Linked DNA regions of Homo sapiens: regions 1 and 3 are each linked to region 2. Evidence: promoter capture Hi-C in 16 types of primary human blood cells and fetal thymus (Javierre and others, 2016). All regions are on one chromosome and are shown on one strand. The core of a region is centred on a gene start or on the middle of the fragment in contact, and the rest is flanking DNA. Distances in the headings are between cores, read along the strand shown. Region 1 overlaps ZNF664-RFLNA (ZNF664-RFLNA readthrough). Region 2 holds the start of NCOR2 (nuclear receptor corepressor 2). Region 3 overlaps ZNF664-RFLNA (ZNF664-RFLNA readthrough).

The links. Contacts are between HindIII fragments. The CHiCAGO score rates a contact against its expected background, and 5 or more counts as called.
Region 1: a fragment that was not itself captured here is called in contact with the fragment with the promoter of NCOR2 in region 2 in 5 of 17 cell types (non-activated CD4 T cells, naive CD4 T cells, activated CD4 T cells and 2 more); the score reaches 6.9 in non-activated CD4 T cells.
Region 3: a contact is called between a fragment that was not itself captured here and the fragment with the promoter of NCOR2 in region 2, in 2 of 17 cell types (naive CD8 T cells and fetal thymus). The highest score is 5.4, in naive CD8 T cells.

The regions. Positions count from the first base shown.
Region 1 is chr12:123,974,478-123,977,225 of GRCh38, forward strand. All of the region lies in intron 2 of ZNF664-RFLNA (ZNF664-RFLNA readthrough), which reads left to right. All of the region lies in intron 2 of ZNF664 (zinc finger protein 664), which reads left to right. Among named protein-coding and RNA genes, the nearest start is that of ZNF664-RFLNA, 2.6 kb to the left of the region's middle. The HindIII fragment of the contact is 298 bases long and covers 1,345-1,642 here.
Region 2 is chr12:124,566,338-124,569,037 of GRCh38, forward strand. NCOR2 (nuclear receptor corepressor 2) reads right to left here and starts at 1,275. Exons shown (of 49, transcript NM_006312.6): 1 at 971-1,275. RefSeq lists silencers at 21-120, 321-540, 681-790, 811-1,170, 1,281-1,530 and enhancers at 1,651-1,700, 1,867-2,700. The HindIII fragment of the contact is 7,570 bases long and covers 1-2,700 here.
Region 3 is chr12:124,008,016-124,010,748 of GRCh38, forward strand. The region is part of intron 2 of ZNF664-RFLNA (ZNF664-RFLNA readthrough); the gene reads left to right. All of the region lies in intron 3 of ZNF664 (zinc finger protein 664), which reads left to right. Among named protein-coding and RNA genes, the nearest start is that of ZNF664-RFLNA, 36 kb to the left of the region's middle. The HindIII fragment of the contact is 5,312 bases long and covers 1-2,733 here.

The DNA.
Region 1 (2,748 bases), core at 244-2,743, 590 kb before region 2:
CGCATAGTTTTTTAGAGCAGGAAATTGACCTTGTTCAACCCGCAGGTTAATTAAAAATTTAAAAATTAATTCTAAATTAGCAGAGTAGTACATTTTCTTTGTAAAAACAGCATATCACAGAGATGGCATTTTGTCTTTGACTATCAACCTCTGTCTTCAGGGATGCCGACTATTATGTGTGTGGTGTTTATCCTTCTAGATCTTTTGGAGTACTTTTACGTGTGTGCACTTAACATCATTTTTGACTGCTTTAACAAGGACTGTTGCACCGTAACTTTCAATGTTAGCATGTAATGCTTCAAGTCATTTTTTAACAACTGCTGCACCATGTTCCATAGTTTCAGTATATCATGGTTTAGCCATTTCCCAAATTGATAGCAGTTTAAGTTTTAACTTTAAAACAGCTTTTTTGCTGGTGGTGGTTCTCTGATGAGATGAAATTTCGGTGATAGGAGCACAGATCTACGCTAATTATCGAGATTCGGCATTTATGATGAAGTTCTCTTTTGGTTAAGAAATTGATATGTGGAAGCAGCCACCCCTCCCCTATGGTAGTTCTGACTCTAGCAGTTAGAAGTTGTGTGACCTTGGGGAGGACATTGAATCACACCAAACCTCGGTTTTCTTTTCTGTAAATGGCCTGCTCTGTCTGCTCCATAGAGTTCAGTGATACAGTGCGTATGTGTTGTGGAATGTAAAGTAGTATATATAAAGGTTGGTTTTATTAGCCTTTGTGATCCAAAAATTATTTGCAATATCATTTATATTTTTTGACCAGATGTGTGTGTATCATATCACAGAGCACTACAGATAGTCAACTTTGAATGCTTTTTAATTTGTGACTTTTTAAATTAATTTTTATCAAGTACTGACAATACATTAGTCTTCTTAACAATATTTTGCAAAGCATTTTTTCCTAGGGCTTTCTTTTCTTCCTCTTCATTAAAAAAAAAAAAAAAGAGAGAGAGATAGGGTCTCTTTCTGTTGCCGTGGCTGGAGTGTAGTGGCATGATTCTAGTTCACTGCAGCCTGGGACTCCTGGGCTCAAGTGATCCTTGTGCCTCAGCCTCCCCAGTAGTTAGGAATGACTACAACCATGTGCCACCACACCTGGCTGATTTATTTTATTTTTGTAATGACAGGCTCTTACTATCTTGCCCCAACTGGTCTCAAACTCCTGGCCTAAAGCAGTCCTCCCAAAGTGTTGGGATTACAGGTGTGAGCCACTGTGCCCAGCCCCTAGTGGTTTTACATACCTTAAAAAATAAGGCATATAAATTAGTTGACTGTGAATAAACATATTAGCAAACTGAACACTAGACAATACTCGCACTATAATATTTAAGCTTATTTCCTTAGAGTTGTAAGTTGTACATGTATTTTTCTGTGGCAGCAGCAGATTCAGATTAGCTTTTATGTCCTTCAGGGAAAAGGGATTGTTACTAAATTTGCAGGCTGCATCAGAGTTTTAATATTGAGATTTAATATTTTAATCATTTGAATAATGATTGAATGATGTGATGGGTAACATTTTAAGATGTATGAGATACGATTAGGGGCTTTTTATGTATTTTTCTTTCTTTCAGATATATATGAGTGCCTGTAGTGTGGCCAGCAAAATCAACTTATTTTGTTCTCTTGAAGCTTATGATTTGTGAGGGGGATTGGAATTTAAACACAATCACAACTACACGTATGATCACAAACTGGTATCTGCTGTGAAAGTTAAGAAGCACCTGCTATGAGGGAGTATAAAAAAGGGGAGACCAAATTTTAGAGTGGAGAGAAGGGGCCTAGGAAAGACTTTTCTGTATAAATAAGATTTAAGCTGAGATTTGAAGAGTGCGTAGGTGTTAGTGTGGAGGAAAGTGGGGGATAATTTTCCAGGCAGAGGAACAGCATGTGGGAAGGCCTCAAAGTGGGGAAAAAGCTTTGCCCATTCCAGGAACTGAAAGAATGAATGTGGATAGACTATGGAGGTGAAGGGGAAGAGTGGCTAGGCCAGGGGCCAGATCAAGTAGGGTCATGTAGGGCAGGTTAAAGTGGTTGTATTTTATCCCGAGTGAAATGGGAAACCATGATATGGGTTGGGATTTACGAAGAGGAGTGACATAATCAGATTTGTATCTTTAAACAGCCACTCTAGTCGTTGCATGCAAGATGTGGGGGCGTGTTGGGGGTGGAGAGTAGAAGTGGGGAGACCAGGTTGGCCATCTCAGAGGGCTGCCTGGAAGAGACGTGAGCTTTCCCTTGGAATTCACATTGACCTCACGTTACCAGCTACACTAAGGTCAAATCAATGTTTGATTAAAAAAAAAAAAGATCCTGGCCATGCACAGTGGCTCACACCTGTAATCCCAGCACTTTGGGAGGCAGGTGGATCATGAGGTCAGGAGACCGAGACCATCCTGGCTAACACGGTGAAACCCTGTCTCTACTAAAAATACAAAAAATTAGCTGGGCGTGGTGGCAGGCACCCGTATTCCCAGCTACTCGGGAGGCTGAGGCAGGAGAATGGCGTGAACCCGGGAGGTGGAGCTTGCAGTGAGCGGAGATCATGCCACTGCACTCCAGCCTGGGCAACAGAGGGAGACTGTCTCACAAAACAAACAAAACCCCCACAAATCCTTGTTTCTAATTTTTAAGAAGTGGGGATAAATAAAAGCAATAAAAAGGTACTTGGTATGCAAAAAGTACACATAAATGTTAAACTAGTTGTCTATACTTAAAAGTATCAGAGAGTCAAAT
Region 2 (2,700 bases), core at 25-2,524:
AAAAAATAAACCTACAATGTAAAAATAACGCCGGGCGCCCCACGCTAATTGGGCCCGGGCGACAGCAGCTCCCAGGTACAGCCTGTCTCTCCCTCCCGCCCGCCGTGCCCTCCCGCCCTCGGCTTGCTCCTCCTGCAAGTGTCTGGGGCGGGGAGGGCGTACCCCACGGGTGCCCTCACTCCCCGCAGGCCTCTGAGGAAGCTGCCCTCTAGACAAGGGTCTGGGTCTTCCCAGTCGTGCCCAAGTGGGATCAGCTCTGAATTCCAACTTCGCAAAGTAGTGGCATCCCAAGTATCCGCACAGCCCGGGGGAGGGACTAGGAGGCGGCCCAATGAGGCGTCACCAGCCACGGGAGGCAGGCCCAGACACCAGGAACACCGGCCCGCGGGGGAGGGGGACCAGGGGCGACTCTCCCGAGGGACCCCGCCCAGCGCCCCGTGGCCCCACGCCTAGGAGGGACAAGGCTGGCTCTCCCCCTCGGCTGGTGAGAGACCCTCATGCGCCCCTCCACAACAGCCAGGCCAGGGAGCTAGGGGTACCATCTCCAAGGGCTTTCAAACCCGCGCTGCCCGATGGAAAATAAGGCGCAGTGTCGCCCCGCCAGGTCCGGGGCTACACCGGGTACAAGGGACGCCTGGCGGCCAAGTCCCCAGAGCCGGCGCACACTGTGGGGGGCCGCTCTGTGCATTTCCAGCGCGCCCCCCGCCCACCCCAACGCCACTTCCCTCCTTCCCGCCCCCTCGCTAGGGAGCTGGAGTTCCCCTAAGTTCCCCGGCGCCCCCGAGCACGCGGGCCGCAGTGTCGGCGGGGCGCCTTGCTCCCCAGCAGGCCACCCCCCGAGAGCGCCAACTCGGGAGTGCAGGGGCCCCGCCAACTCCGCCGCGTGCGCCGCCCGATCCTCCCCGGATCCCCCGGAAGCGCGCTCCGCGCCTCCCCCCGCCCTTCGCGGGGACCCTCGGCCCCAACTCACCTCGCGGAGGTGGCAGCGGTGGCGCCCGGGCTTGGGGCGCGCTCGGGCCGCCGGGGCGCTCAGGCAAGTGGCGGTGCCGATCGGGCTGGGGGCGCGCAGCAGGCCCGGCCTCGGGTCGGGACGCGATCCTCCCGCCGCCGCCTCCTAGGGCGCCGGCCCTGGGTCCCCGGCCCGCAAGTTGGCGCGCATCGCGGAGCGCAGGGCGCGGGCGCAGGGCTCGGGCGGGGCGCCGGCGGACGCGGGGCTCCGGTGCGGCCCGGCCTGCCCGCGGCTCCGCGCTCCCCGGCGGCCGCGGCGGCGGTGGCGGCGGCGGCGGCGGCGGCGGCGGCGGGAGGGGGAGGAGGGGGCGGGGCGCGAGCCCGGGAGGCGGTGGCTCGGCCTCCCTGCTCCCGGCTCCCCGCCCGCAGCGACGCGCCCCGGCCCGGCCCCCTCTGGCTCCTTAAAGGGCCCGCGCCTTCTCTCCAGGCCCTGCGCGTCCCCACTCGCGCGCGCACGCCGCCACACACACAGACACGCACGCACACACTTGGGCGCGACGCCGAGTTTCTTTTTGGCAGCTCCCCGAGGAGGAAGGAGGGGGGAAGCGCCTCCCAGCCTTCCCCTCCCTCTTCTCCTGCGGGCCCGGGGGCCCTCCTCCTCCTCTCCAGCCCCAGTACCTCACTGGAATCGCGTTTCAGCTATTAAATTATAACTCTGGAGTGGCCGCTGGATGGGGAGGGGGCGCGCAGGGAGGGCCCTACACAGGGCCTTTTAGGAGCACGCCCAGTGGGGCACTTGGGGACGGGAGCAGACAGTAGCGCAGAGCCCTCTCCAGGCAGGAACACGCTGGGCCTCCCCAGACCCGAGACCCAGCCCGGGCGAACACACTGCAGACTCACCACCCACCACGGACCGGAGATGTCAGATCTCACACAGACAAATACTGGGACACCCACGCGAGTTCACAGCACCCCGGAGGACACAGACGCTAGAATGCCAGTTTCCTGAGGGCAGAGATTTCTATTTTGTTCACTGCCCTATCGCAGTAGGGACTCACGAATGTGTTGAGTGAAGTCCCACTTGGGGACATTCAGGGACACAAATGCGGAGACAATGCAACGAGCCTGTGTCCCCCCCGCCCCCCCCACACACACACACAGACACACACATCCCAAAGCGTGACCCTGGGAGCCACACACGCCCGGCCTGCACAAGCACGCAGTCACAGACGGCACACATGTGCTCGCTCCCCCACGCACAGGCAGACACTCTCCGCTCCAGCAGGAACCTGGCCCCCCTGGCCGCCCTGACAACCCAGTGTCCTCATTTACCCCCTCCTCCCACCCCCTCCAGGTTTGCCCTCTCCAACCAGGGCAGATCTCTTTGAACAGCAGAGGGCACTGGGAGCCCTGGGCCTGGAGCCTCCCTCCCTCCCTCCTCTTCTGCTTTCTCCTAAGATGTTGGAGAGTTTGAATTTTTTTTTTTTTTTTCAGTTCAACTTTCCTTTTTTGGAGTGACGTCTCAGCAGATTCAGTTCTGCCATCTGGCAACATCTGAGAACCCCCAGGGAGAGCGGGGAATGGCTGCGGTGGGGAGGCAGCCGCGTGGTTTCCAGAGGCCGGCGGGCCTCCCGCCTCCGCCAGGATGCTGGGTTTGCCGGGCTCCCCTGCAGCCAGGTCCTTCTCTGCCCCCTCGGGCTTTTAATTATGAGCTTTTGGGGGGCTGGCGGGAGCCTCTGGGGCTGACAATGT
Region 3 (2,733 bases), core at 73-2,572, 560 kb before region 2:
TTGACTGTCCTCTTTTAGCAGCTGGTTTGCTTCAGATTGCAAAGAAGTTCCTCTGATTACATCTGATTGTTATGTCTCAAATCGCTTTCATTTAGAGCAACTCCTCCCACCTTACCGGCTTTTTTTCCCTCGTGTCCTTATTGCAAAAAAAAAGGGGCAGTTGTGCTGTAGAGTGGCTCACCTTTTGATATTTTGCTACTTGCTTCCTAGTAGTTCCTCTGTCCCTTCAGTTCTTTCCATTAAAAATTAGCTCCAGAGGCTTGATTAGGTTTTGCTTCAGTCTTTTGACAAGAATGTCTTCAGAGGGTGCTGGGTGTTTCCCATTGCACCACAGCAGGAGGCACACGTGTCTGGTTGTTCCTCTTTGAGTCATGCTAAGATCGATCCCTGGCTTCAGGTGGTGACAGCCTGGTCCTGGCAGTGTCAAGTCCTGGATCAGCCTTCCAGCCGCTTTTTTCACCCATTGCTTTTCATGGTTTGAATCAGGTGTTTGATGAGGAGAATGCACATATTAGCTGGTTGTTTCTTTGTCTTGAAAGAGAGTTCATAGAGGAAATAGGATAGATGCTTCTCTCCATTTAATTACCAATTTTTAGGGTAAAAAGTTGGGCCCCTAGTTAATTCCAATTTTGTTCAGTGCCTTGGGTCTCTCCATCTCTCTGCCTGCCTGTCTGTCTCTTTCTTCCCCATTCTCTACAGTCATTATGAGCTCCTGGGGTTTGTATATTGAATGCGTCTCACTCAATTGCCTTTCTTATTCCTTTTGATGCTCAGTTGCATGATTGGCTCTGTGTTCCTTTGGCACGGCCCTCTTGCTTTCTGGCATAACAGGATGTCCCAGGCTCATTTTGTAAGTGCTACTCTGGCTTTGAACCCAGCCATTCCTCCAAGGACCCCTTGCCTCTTGGTGGGGAGAGGATTTAAGGGAAGGGGCTGTAGGTGTGCTCATTGCTATCGCTTCTTATTGCTTCCAGGTCTTTTTGGTGATAACTAAAAAGAAAAAAAAGTGAATTCAGACTGATATGTCTAAGTCAAATTTTATATTACAGAATTTTTTCTTAACTTTGATTTTATACTTAAATCTAATTTTTCCTACATTGAATCTTGGCTCCTAACAACTTTAACATAAACTACTTATTTGTATTAACCTACTTTAAAATACACCACAGTAACAGTTAAATTGTTGAAAGAAGTGTGATTTCTTTGCAGCTTATTTGTCAAAAGAATATGTTCTAGGTATGTGCAATCAGTATACTATGCTCAAAAGCCATTTGTGGCTATGTCACCAATATGATAGGTTTATTCTCTTTATTTTGTTTTAACATTCATTTAATTTTATTTTTTAACTATAGAAACATATGTTTCCAGAGTCATGTAACAGTATATTCAGAGAAGTCTTAACTGTATTCTCCCCCATAAGTAATCATTAAATTAAATTCTGGATTATCTTTCACCATGCTTATTTATTTTATTTATTTATTTTATATTTTATATTTTATTTTAGATAGGGTCTCACTCTGTTGCTGAGGCTGGAGTACAGTGGTGCAATCTTGGCTCAATGTAGCCTTGAACTCCCAGGCTCAAGCCATCTTCCTGCCTCAGCTTCCTGAGTAGCTGCGACTACGGGTGTGTGCCACCATGCCTGGCTAACTTTTTAATTTAATTTAATTTAATTTTTTTTGTAGAGACAGGGTCTCCCTATGTTGCCCAGGCTGGTCTCAGACTCCTAGCCTCAAGTGATCCTCCCACCTCGGCCTCCTGGCATGCTGGGATTACAGGCATGAGCCAGTGTGCCAGGCCAGAGTTTATTTTATATATTACCTTCCTTTTTTGCAGAAACGGTAGCATAGAACATATACTATTGTGTACCTTTTTTTTTTTTTTTAACTTAACAGTGTGACCTGGGTTCACTCCATGTCAGTGCACAGTGCTTGTCCTCATTCCTTTTTGTCTTGTGAGGAGGTGCCATACTCGACTCGGCTAGTTCCCTATCGATGGCCTTCGGTTGCTTGCAGTTTTGCTGCCAAATACTGCCTCAGTGAATAACCGGGTATATCAGTCATTTCCTATTTTTACCAATGTGTCTTTAGGATATATTCTAGAATTATTACTAGGACAAAGGATAGATGCAAACATAATTTTTGTAGATATATGACCATTTTTGCCGAAATTTTGGGGACCTAATTGAATTTTGTAATTGTAACACTTTCACCTATAAGCAGTCCAGTTTATTTTACATTTTAACATTACATCTCCTCAAACACCCATGCATGTTCTCTTTGTATGGAACATATTAAAAGTGTTACTTTAAGAAGACCTATTGATTTCATTTAGTTAATTTTAAAGTATCATAGCGTATAGAGTAAAAGAAATGAAAAGATTGCTAAAACATAGTCCTAAACCTTAAAAGATTTCAGAGTGAATATTTTGAGATTTATTTTCTTCTTTTATCTCCTCCTTATTCTATTTGTGGTGTATTTTGTCCCCTGTAGGCTATCAAAGACTGGAAATAAGGCACTAAGAAATGTACCTTTATCTGCTCCACCAGAATGAAGCAGGATATGTGTGTGGGTGCCAGAGGGTGTCCTGAAGTACTCTATAGATTTTCAGAAAATATTCATTGAACACCTCTCATTGCCAGGTTATAACAGAGAGCAACGCACACAGTTCCTCCTTCATGGCACTTACATCCTAGTACAGGAGACAGGTTAAAAACCAGGGAACCAATACGAT